2 separate regions of the Homo sapiens genome follow, and region 1 is linked to region 2. The links are contacts of gene promoters, found by promoter capture Hi-C in human tissues and cell types (Jung and others, 2019). All regions are on one chromosome and are shown on one strand. Each heading gives the region's core, a stretch centred on a gene start or on the middle of the fragment in contact. The rest is flanking DNA. Distances are from core to core; before and after follow the strand shown. Region 1 overlaps SIL1 (SIL1 nucleotide exchange factor). Region 2 holds the start of PAIP2 (poly(A) binding protein interacting protein 2).

Region 1 (6,187 bases), core at 929-3,428, 350 kb after region 2:
ATATTTATAAAATGTGTTTCTGTTCATGAACATGATATGTCTTTCCAGTTAGATGGTCTCACATCTTTTAATAAAACATCATAATTTTTTCCATATAGGTAGTGAATCAATCTCTTTTGTTATGCCTAATTACCTCATAGTATTTGTTATTGTAAAGAGGTTAATTTTCAAGTTTTTATTTTATAATTGTTTGTTGCTGGTATATGACTTTATAGCCAACAAACTTGCTGATGTCTTATTAGTTCTAATAGTTTACATTTTTTCTTGGATGTTATTTGTAGATAATCGTATCATTTAATATAAAAATAATTTTGTTTCTTTTCAATCTTTATCCTCCATTTCTCTTTCTTATTGCAATGTCTAGCACCTTTAATACAGTGTTTATTGAAATACTAGTAGACATCCTTATCCTTTTCCTGTCTTTAAAGGGAATGATTCTAATATTTTACCACTAAATATGATATCTTCCATAGGTTGATGAATTTATTTATATATTATCTAGTAGTGAATCATCCTTACATTTCTGAAATAAATGTTTTTGGTCATTGTATTAGTTATCTATTGCTATGTAACAAATTCTCACAAACTTAGTGGCTTAAAACAATGCACACTTATTATATTACACTTTCTGTAGGTCAGGAGTCCAAGTGTGACTTTGTCGGGTCCTCTGCATTGCCGTAGTCCAAGGTGTCAGCTGGAGCTAGGGTCTAATATGGCACTTGACTGGGAAGCATTTCCTTTTAAACTGATGTGGTTGTTGGCAGAGTTCAGTTCTTTGCAGGCTGTCAGATTAAAGACCTTAGTTTGTTGCTGGTGGGAGGCTGCCCTCAGTTCCTTGCCACATGGCTATCTCCATAAGCAGCTCACAACATGGCAGCCTGCTTCTTCAGAGCCAGCAAGGGAGAGTGTTTCTCAGCAAAACAGATGTTACCGTCTTACGTAGTGTAATCACATACACATAGTCGTATATATCTTGTCACCTTTGCCGTATTCCATTGGTTGGAAGCATGTCATATTCCCACACCCAATGGGAGGTAATTACACAAGGATGCGTCTGGCTGTGGCCTAGACATCATATTTCTGGAAGTGACAGAAAATGACATAATGGGATAGATATTTATTTTTTCCATGTAAACAGCATCTTCAGGTCAGCAGCTTTGGGTTGGTGTGGCAACTGTATTGTGGGTAGACTCTTGGGTCTTGAGTTCCTTCGAGTCACACTAGGATGCCATCCCTAAGGAATAGCCCTTCCTCATCATCCCAGATGGCAAGATCTGCATTCCAGGGAGCAGGGTGGAAGGAGCGACATAGAAGAGGAGGTAAAGGGCACTTAAAAATCTCTTAAGGGGATCCCAGAAGCTGTCAAATGATGCTTCTGCTTATAATCTGTTGGCCAAAACGTAGTGCCTTGGCCATACCTCCCTGCAAAGGAGGCCGAGAAATATAGTCTTTATACTTTATTTGCCCAGCAAAAATTCTGCTACTGTGGAAGAATGGGAGAACAGATTGTGGGGGACCACTAGCAGCTTCCATCTCAGCTAGCTTTCAGTTACAAAAGAAAAAGTTTCTCTTTTCTCTTGGCTCTGGAATAGTTTAGCATAAGATTATTTATTTATATTTTTTTAATTATTATTTTCTAAATTTTACTTTTTTCAATAGTTTTTTGGGAACAGGTGGTGTTTAGTTGCCTGGATAAGTTCTTTAGTGGTGATTTCTGAGATTTTGGTGCACCTGTCACCAGAACAGTGTACACTATACCCAATGTGTGTAGTCTTTTATCCCTCACCCCCTCCCACCCTTCCCCGAGTCCCCAAAGTCCATTATATAATTCTTAGGCCTTTGTGTCCTTGTAGTTTAGCGCCCAAGGATTATTTATTTTTTTGATGTTTGAAAAGATAACCTGAAAAATTACCAATTACTCTATTTCTTATGTGTAGAAGAGCATAGCATACCAAGAGAGTACTGGACTCACCTGGACCAGGTATGCTGTGGATATGAGAAAGGCTGGCTGTGGAAAAGGAGCCTGCTAGGGGCAGGGGCTTTACATATACTGTCTCATTTAATCCTCACAACAACTGCCAGAGTGAGGGGTAGGATTTTGGCTTCACAGAGGAGGGTCCTCACCCAAGAGCATGCAGTTAACTTATGGGATGGTTACACTTCAAACCTAAAGCATTGATGTCAAAGCCCATGTTCTTTCTATAGTTTGAAGAGCTAGCAGACTCTCTCAGAAAGGGCCATCTCTCTGAAGGTCTTGAGTGGGGTTCCTAGTCTCTTTCTTCATCACTCACACAAGCTTTTGACTTGGATATCTGGAGGATATAGGTAATGATAGGGAGGGAGCAGGTGGGATTTGTGGCAAGGTCTCCTCATTCAGCCTAGCACCCATAGTCGTGTAGTGATTGCCATGGGACTCAGTACATCCGTTCTGCACCTTGCTTTCCTTCCATGGTCTGCGTATGCATTAGAAGGTGTACAGTGGGCACTGACTGGAGTGAGCCTCATCAGGAGTCCAGTACCTACAGGCTTCTGCCCTTTGGCAGCAAACCTGAAAGAGAGCTCTGACCAGCCTTTTTAGAAATAGCCCTGATTTAACTAGAGTAAGCATGCTTCTAAACTCTGCTGCTATGGTCCATTTTTTGGATCAAGCCCCTTCTGGATGGGTTCTCTGTGATATTTAAGTCACAAGGACATAGATGGGGAACCTTCTCCGTTGTATTTCTTCTCTTCTCTCCTTCTGCCAAATACTTTTGAGTGTTTGTTTGTTAAATTCTGATCAGTTAGATGTATTCTCTCCCAGCAGCTCTTCTTCTGTAACCATAGTTCAATACTTAAAAGTGGAGAATCTGTCAAGGATAGAGGGAGGGCAACTATTGAAGGATGGCAGGAAATATCGACCCTGTACCCTGATGATGACCAGCCCTGCTTTGCAGCCTGTGCTGCCTGGATAGAAGGCCTGCTGGGGGAGTCTTGGGGCTTTTTTAGGGAGTTAGTGTATCCCATTATCTCAGAATGTGTGCAAAATGTGGAATGAACAGCCCTGAGTAAAAGAGGCTGTCATGTGGCTGTGGAACAGAAGGATTTCCTTGTATTGGACAATCCATAATCCCTTTGTTTCAGGGAAATCTCTAAGACTGACTTCCCATGCTGCCTCCCAGCCCCTACTGCATTTCACTTGCATACACAGCCTTGAGGTCTAAAGCTAATTTATTTCTATCCCATTTTCTCTCAGCTTTTATTCTGCATTTAATCAGTTGCCTTGGTCCCACAGCTACTTCAGCCAGGCTGCTGGGAAAAGATTATAGCTGGCCCTGGTGCCCCAGCCTCCATCCAGAGCATCTGGCCAACACGCCAGAAAACAGAATGTCTCAGGCCTTCCTACTCTTTCTGACTGGCAATTGCAGGATGGTGTAGGCTATAGAGACTCCTGTCATGAAGCCTTCATTTTTCAGATCACCCGGAAAAAGGAAAGGATAAAGACTGTTTTAAAAAGCCGGCTGGGGGTGGGGCATGGTGGCTAACGCCTGTAATCCCAACACTTTAGGAAGCTGAGGCAGGCGGATCACCTGAGGCTGGGAGTTTGAGACGAGCCTGGCCAACATGGCAAAACCCCGTCTCTACTAAAAATACAAAAATTAGACAGATGTGATGATGGGTGCCTGTAATCCCAGCTACTTGGGAGGCTAAGGCAGGAGAATCGCTTGAACCCAGGAGGTAGAGGTTGCGGTGAGCCGAGATCGCGCCACTGGACTTCAGCAAGACTCTGTCACGAAGAAAAGAAAAGCCAGCTGGGGCCTGTTTGGGGCTCATGCCTCTAATCCTAGCACTTTGTGAGACTGAGGTGAGAGGATCACTTGAGCCCTGGAATTTGGGACCAGCCTGGACAAAATAGTGAGATCCCATCTCTAACAAAAACAACAAAATTATCCAGGCATGGTTGGAGACTGAAGTGGGAGGATCCCTTGAACCTGGGAGGTCGAGGCTGCAGTGAGCCATGATAACGCCACTGGACTCCAGCCTGGGCAGCAGAATGAAACCCTGTCTCAAAATAAATAAAAAGCCAGCTGGAAAGCATCTAGAAAATAGAATGAAAGTCATCTGCCCAATTCCCAGCAGTCCTCCCCAGGTTACCTTCTACGGTTATCTGGTCATTTAGATTCTCATGGCAAGGAGTTGAGACTAAAGGCTGCCCTGGTTAGAGTTGCTGTTTGGCATTAGACTGGGATCTCTGTGGGCATCCTAGGACAACCTTCCCTCATAGTGGTCACACTGGTGCCTTTGCTCTGAGCAAGTGTCTTTCCACAGTCCTCATTGTCTAGATGGAAAACTCTTGGGTAAGTGTACGCTCACATTGGGTTGGATACAAAGATTCAAAGAGAAGCAAAGGCCAAAGCAAAAAAATGGGACCAGGAGTAAACTTGCTGGGCGGTCCAGGAAGAGAGGGCAGGAAGACGCAAGCCCTGGTGCCTACCTGTGACCCTTAACGTGAAATTCCTGTCGCACGCATGCCTTTCCCAAAGAGCCATGGACAGTGATCAGTGGCTGAATGGAGGAGCCTCTGTTCCCACTCAGTACCTCTGCTGCAGTGATTTGTTCAAGACCACAGAGCCAGCTGGCAGTCAGAATGAGAAGATGAGTCAGAAACTCTGAGTTTTCAGGATAAGACATGGCCTTCAGATGGCATTTCCCGTGCAGTTAGAGAAGTCCTAGGATCAGAAGTGATGTGTTCCTGCAAAGTTCATGTAAAGCCACCCTCTCCACCCCTGTAACTCACTATGAACTGTGACTTAAATGAGCTGCAGTTTCCCCTTTTGCAAAGGAGAGAAACTGTTGGGGGCTTATCAAGCTAGATGATGCCTTAGAGGGCAAAAGGTGTCCTACATAAAGGAGTGCGGCCCTTGTTTCCAGCCTTCTTCCCCTCCCTCCTTCCGTATCTCTCTCCTTTCCTTCCTGTCTTCCTTCCTCTCTTTCTTCCCTCCCTCCTGTGCTGCTGCCATCTGCCCTCAGATATGTGTAGTGACCACTGGGGGCCCCATTTTTCTCTTGCCATGGCTAATCTTGATGGTGTTCGTGAAGTCTGTACACAGAGGTTCATTCAAACCATATGACTAAGATAATTTCTGTAATTTTTGGTAGAGATGGGGTTTCACTGTGTTGGCCAGGCTGGTCTAGAACTCCTGGCCTCAAGTGATCTGCCCGCCTTGGCCTCCCAAAGTGCTGGGATTACAGGTGTGAGCCACCATGCCTGGCTGGGATATATAAGATTCTTGTTTTCCCTGTGGAACATGGTCTGACTTCTCTGTAGTATTTTGGTAAGTGTCCAGATTACTGTCTATGAGATGACTTACTTAAACTTCATGTTTTCAACTCTGATTTGGTAATACAGTCACATGGCTCAAAATTCAAACGGCACCAGAGGATATGAAAAGTATCCTCCACTGTGTCCTTCCACCGTGTCCCTTTGCTACCCTGCTTCCCTGCCTCAAGGCAACCAGTGTTGTCAGTTTCTTCTAGAGATATTTTTCCATGTTAAAGTAAATATTTCCATATATTGTTTTTACATGAAAGGCAGTTTACTGTAGATTCATCATTCTGTAATTTACTTTTTCTGTTTAACTATATAAGTATTTTGTTTGCTTATTTGGTAGAGATACGGTCTCGCTCTCACCCAAGCTAGAGTGCAGGGGTGCAATCATAGCTTAGTGCAGCTTCAACCTCCTGGGCTCAAGCGATCCTCCTGCCTCAGCCTCCCAAGTAGCTGGGACCACAGGTACGTACCACCATGCCTGGCCAATTTAAAAATTTTTTGTAGAGATGGGGTTTCACTGGGTTGGTCAGGCTGGTAGCACTGTATCTTGAATATCATTCTTTATCAGTCCATAAAGAGCTTCTTAGGAGATAGTTTCTTTGCTTTCAATAGTTGTAGAATGACTCAGGTGGAAACTTTTGGGAAAATGCTTACATTGACCTACGTTTAAAAATGACAGTGCTTCAATTAATTAGACTTATTAGTAGGCAAAATTTATTGTTTAAACGAAGGAGGTATTTGATTGTTGTGTCTAAGAAGTGATTACTGATGGTTTTTTAGAGCCAATATGACTCACAAAACATCTTTGATGTTAAGTTTGGAATGCCTATGTCATTAGTTCTGATTGGGAATCTGTGTAATTCAAAATTTTAGTTTAAA
Region 2 (5,843 bases), core at 2,374-4,873:
ATACTTCCTTTGGCAGTTAAAGAGGATCGCAACATTTTTCAATTGGTCTGTTTTCCACTCTGAAGTCTGTGAAAAGCACCGAATTTTTTGTTTTACTATTTGGCACAGTAAGGTAACGATTAAAAAACATGGGCTCTGGGCTGGGCGCGGTGGCTCACACCTGTAATCCCAGCACTTTGGGAGGCCAAGGCCGTTGGATCACGAGGTCAGGAGATCGAGACCATCCTGGCTAACACGGTGAAACCCCGTCTCTATTAAAAATACAAAAACAAAAGTAGCCAGGTGTGGTGTCGGGTGCAGCTACTCAGGAGGCTGAGGCAGAAGAATGGCATGAACCCTGGAGGTGGAGCGTGCAGTGAGCCGAGATCGCGCCACTGCACTCCAGCCTGGGCAACAGAGCAAGACTCCGTTTCAAAAACAACAACAACAACAACAACAACAAAAACCCATGGGCTCTGGAACCAGGCTGCTTTACTAACTGTGTGACCATGGCAAGTTACTTAACCTGAGTCTCGGTTTCCTCATCTGTTGCATGGGAATTAATAATAGTACCTAGTTAGAGAACCTAGCACATAACAATTGGCATTAACTATCTCGGTGATTAAATATTTAGGGCAGTTAAAGGTCTCTAGACCAAGGGACAAGGTAAAAATTAGAGATCTTAAATCTACAGAGGTGAAACAATGTCACAAGAAAATCCCAAAGTCTACCCTAATCTCAACTGTAGTGTAACAAGGGTAATTAGGTGAGAGCAAGAATGGGTCATCCTAACTGATAAAAGCTCAAGTACATTAGAAATGCCACCCAAATTTATACAAACTGATATAAGAAGCAGAGGCTATTCAAATTCTCCAAACGTGTGCCCATCCAATATGGTGGCCATCGGCTACACAGATCTATTTAATTAAAATTTAGTTCTTCATTTACACTAGCCACATCTCAAGTGCTCATAACCACACACAGTACCTACATCATTGGACAGCACCACTCTAAACAATGAAAAAATTAAGAAAAAAGGGAGTTTTTTGGAACTGAACCTTAGCCTATATCAAATGCAAACTATTCATGCACCTGTGCAACAGGTGGTCTAGATCACAAAGGCAATGACTTGGACAACTTTAATCTTAGACCACAGTCAGAAGACGTAGGTTCAAATCCCAGCTATGCTACATAGCCACCTTAAAGTACCCTAGACCTGTCACTAAATCACACAGCACCACATAATGGTTAAGAGCATAGAATCTCTGGACTATCTGGATTTGAATTCCGACTATCATAGCTCTGTGACATTGGGAAAGTTACTTCACGTCTCATTTGTTATCTTCATTTTACAGTAGGGCCTACCTTCTAGCTATGTTGTGGATCAAATTAGTTAATATTTGTAAAGGCAATGAGAACAATGCCTGGCATTATTGTTATATAAATATTTGCTAAATAAAAATAATCTTTCAGGCTTCTATTTCTTTAATTCCCAAATGGGCAAGATAAAACTTGCTCTGTTGGGAGGCCGACGGGGGCGGATCACAAAGTCAGGAGATCGAGACCATCCTGGCTAACACGGTGAAACCCTGTCTCTACTAAAAATACAAAAAATTAGCCGGCGTGGTGGCAAGCGCCTGTAGTCCCAGCTACTAGGGAGGCGGAGGCAGGAGAATCGCTTGAACCCGGGGAGGCGGAGGTTGCAGTGAGCCAATTGCGCCACTGCACTCCAGCACTCCAGCCTGGCGACAGAGTGAGACTCCATCTCAAAAAAAAAAAAAAAAAAAAACTTGCTCTGCCCATTTCACGTTTCATGATAATGAATGACAATAGGATGTAAATTACAAGAAAATGTTTTAAAAGCACAAAAGGTTATTAGATTACAAGGGGGCAGAGGTCTTGCCTTCCACATTCTTTAATCTCCCACAGTATCAACCAAATTGCTGTGCTAAGTGTTCAAGTTTTTCACTAAAACTGGAGCATCACACTCTAGAGTCATAAAGTGATAAACCTGAATAAAGTGCAGAGTGCTTATTTAAGGAAAAGCCTGCTATAAACTCATTCTGACCAAAAGAGGGTGAAATTACCTACCTCAATTTGAGTTCCTAAGGAGCAACGTGCACAGCCTTGAATCATTAGAGGAAATCTCCATTCCCTAACCTCCATCCCTTAAAGAAACACAAGTGGGTTCTATAGTTCTTGTCAAGTTACCTATCCTGTGATTTTGTGTGTGTGTGAAAAAGTTTTATTCAAGTTCACAACTGACAAGTAGTATAAACAGACTAATTTTCCCCAAATATCCTGTCTTTCACTAACTGGAAACAGAATCACAAAAGCAAATAGTGGAGTCTCATTAAAAATTATTGTAGAGAACTTTTACTTATTGCAAACACAACCTACGCCAGAAGAAATTTCAAAAGCGACTTAATGAAAATATAAACCAACACCTGATCTAACTGTGCTAATGAAATCTGTGAAAAAACAATGCCACCACGTTTCAACATTAGCCAGCACACCCAACATGAACATCTACTTTCCGTTGAAATAAACGTCAAAGGCTGTCAGCTGCTACACCTTCCAAGGCAAATTGGAAGCCAAATTCTTTCTAGAGTTTGGGGTTTTTATGAGTTGATACGGGTGCCAAATCAGGGAAAAAAGAAACAAAAGGAAGCAGGTAAGACCCCTTTTAGGAGTCCCTAAAAAATATCACTGCTGGCTGCTGCAACAAATGTTTTGAAGACCTAAGTTCACCACAAGCCTTATTTATTTCTGGTGGCGATGGTGGGGAAGGAGGAGAGTAAGCACAGAAAATTATTAAAAGGTAAGAGGACCTTAAAGTTCATCTAACTCAACGCCCTCCTAGGGTAAGGGTTCCCAGTACCCCAAAGGTTCTTTTTTCCAGGGCATGAGCTGCAATACAACCAAAAATAAGGGGTAGCGATGGCGAAGAAACGGGAGAAAGACGATCTTCTGATCAGGCCCGTCGACGGTTGCAGCGTTCCCCCAAGACGCCAAGAGCCCGCCAGTCCCTCCGCCCCTCTCTCCCCAAACCCCAGCCTCGGCTGAGGCGCGCACGCGCAGCAAGTAGGGGCTGCGCGTGGCGACGCGCAGGCGTAAAGTGGGTAGAAACAATAAGCTTTGTTGCCGAGGCGGTGGGAGGGGGGCAGGGGAAAGGGTACCCGGCGGAGGGATAAAGGACCGGGAGAATGAGGAACAGGAGAAAGTGCTATCCCGGCAACCCTCGCGCCACTGAGGACCCGGATAGAGAGCTGCGAGATCCAAATCATTAATAATGACAATGAAAAAAAAGCGACGGCCATGTCTCGGAGAAGACAGAGACGAAGTCGGCCCAAGCTCATCCCTCAGACTTGGTGGAAAGAGGCAATGAACAACGGAGGCCGCAATGGACTCGGTGGCCAACCACCCAGGGAACCCTTTAGGCCCCTCTGCCGTCGCCGACTTGCTGTCCCTCGACCTCCGCACCCCTGTCGCCACTCTGCCCGAGAGGACCCCTCACCCAATGCACAGCAGCGGGGACGGCAGCCAACGAATCCTGTCGGCCTCCGCGGATCTCCACAGGCAGCGCCGCTCCCCCGCTCGACGTGCGCTTCGCCCGCCGCCTCCCTTCTCCAGTCCAAACAAACACCCCAGCCCGGAAGTGACTTCACTTCCGTCGCCGCCAACCCCGCCCTCTTGTTCTGTCAGCTCTGCCCTCCGAAGCCACTAGAGAGCGCGCGCGAGAACGCGCGACCCCGAAGTCTGTCTCCAAGGCTGCACACGTGTGCACGCGCAGCAGCCTTTCCAGCGCGCCCCTACGGCCGGCTGCCGGGTGTAGCAGGAACGCTGTCGCACGTTCTCTCTGGAAGGCAGGAATGGGGGCGTACCACTGTTCCCACACCCGCCCATCTTCCGAGAATGATGATATGCAATGAGTGAGGCAGCTGGGGACTGAAGAGCACCCTGACAAGATACACAGGCGTGGACTTTCACAGACATCACACACCCCCCCAAAAACGTAATATTTAGGTAATGACATAGCACACACATACCCATACACACCCCAAGAATGATACACAATGTCACACAAACAGCGACATGCACCGAGTCACGTCAAGATCCTGACACAGAAAAATAATAAACTAAGGGAAATCACAGAGGCGTACTAAATGATATGCAAACATCCGCACTCAGACATGTGCAGGCACAAAAACACACTTTTTGAAGCTGGATGCAAACGCAAAATACAAATACATGTGCAACTTCTTTGTGGCTAAAGGAGGAAATGCCCTGTCCACACAGGATAGAAAAGTGTGACCTCCGGGTTCAAGAATTTTGTAGTCCGTGATCCTGGGTGCACTGGCCCCATAGTTATTCTTACCCATGCTTCCTTCCTGTCATCGTTGACAAGCCCCAAGATATATTTCTAGTGACACTAAGCAATGTAAAGAAGAGAGTATGTTTTTGTTTTTTTGTTTTGTTTTGTTTTTTTGAGGCGGAGTCTGGCTCTCTTGCCCAGGCTGGAGTGCAGTGGCGCCATCTCGGCTCACTGCAACCTCCGCCTCCCGGGTTCAAGAGATTCTCCTGCCACAGCCTCCCAAGTAGCTGGGACTACAGGCGCACGCCAGCACACCCGGCCAATTTTTGTACTTTTAGTAGAGATAGGGGTTTCACCGTGTTGGCCAGGATGGTCTCGATCTCCTGACCTCGTGATCCACCCGCCTCCGCCTCTCAAAGTGCTAGGATTACAGGTGTGAGCCACCGCACCCGGCCGAGAGTATGTGTTTTACAAATCTGGATGTTCAAATGTGTAGATACTATCTTTGAAAAAGGGACACAAACTAATTTCTTCCCTTTGGAGAGGGCAAATGACCGACTAGGAAATGGGTGCAAATAACTATCCTTTTCTCCTGAAAAATTTGAATCTTTTAAAAACTATATGCTTGTAGTATTTACTAAGACAAAAAATTCCCTCCATGGGAAGGCTTGAATTTAGAAACCGGGTTGTTCCTCTTCAGAGCTATTTCATTCACTGAATACTCTTCTGGGCCAGTCCAAAGCCCCAAAGAAATGAATGCAGATGGTTCTGCCCTAGCTCCTGGGTCAACCACCTTGGCAGCACTTACAGATCTATATTCTAAACTGTGAAGATAAGCTATCAATCTGAGGCTGAAGGAAGTCTGAACATAACAAAATAGGTATTTATATAGTCTGAGATGACTCAGACTCTCTTTTTAAGACACAGTCTTCCATCACCCAGGCTGGAGTGCAGTGGCATGATCACGGTTCACTACAGCCGCAACCTCCCTGGCTCAAGCAATCCTCAAACCTCAGCTTGCAAAGTAGCTGAGACCACAGGTGTGTACCACCATGCCTGGCTAATTTTTGAATTTTTTGTAGAAATGAGGTTTTGCCATATTGCCCAGGCTGGTCTTGAACTCCTGGGCTCAAATGATCTGCCCGCTTCAGCTTCCCAAGGTGCTGGGATTACAGCCGTGAGCCACAGGGCCTGGCCTAACCCAGACTCTCTTAAAAGGTAAGCATGAGGCCAGGTGCGGTGGCTCACACCTGTAATCCCAGCACTTTGGGAGGCTGAGGCGGGCAGATCATGAGGTCAGGAGTTTGAGACCAGCCTGGCCAACATGGTGAAACCCTATCTCTAATAAAAATACAAAAATTAGCCGGATGTGGTGGCACATGCCTGTAGTCTCAGCTACCCGCGAGGCTGAGGCAGGAGAATCGCTTGAACCCGGGAGGAGGAGGTTGCGGTGAGCCCAGAGCATGCCATTGCATTCCAGCCTGGGTGACAGAGTGAGACTCTGTCTTAAAACAAACAAATAAACAAAAAGGTAAACATGAGATAATTG

What was found. The method cuts DNA at HindIII sites, captures the fragments that hold promoters and counts their contacts. A contact is called where the count stands out against the background at its distance.
Region 1: a contact is called between a fragment that was not itself captured here and the fragment with the promoter of PAIP2 in region 2, in 1 of the 25 tissues and cell types used here (liver).

What each region holds. Positions count from the first base shown.
Region 1 is chr5:138,988,331-138,994,517 of GRCh38, reverse strand. The region is part of intron 7 of SIL1 (SIL1 nucleotide exchange factor); the gene reads left to right. Among named protein-coding and RNA genes, the nearest start is that of LRRTM2, 120 kb to the right of the region's middle. The HindIII fragment of the contact is 6,948 bases long and covers 1-5,652 here.
Region 2 is chr5:139,339,634-139,345,476 of GRCh38, reverse strand. It overlaps PAIP2 (poly(A) binding protein interacting protein 2), which reads right to left and starts at 3,623. Exons shown (of 4, transcript NM_016480.5): 1 at 3,497-3,623. The HindIII fragment of the contact is 8,924 bases long and covers 1-5,843 here.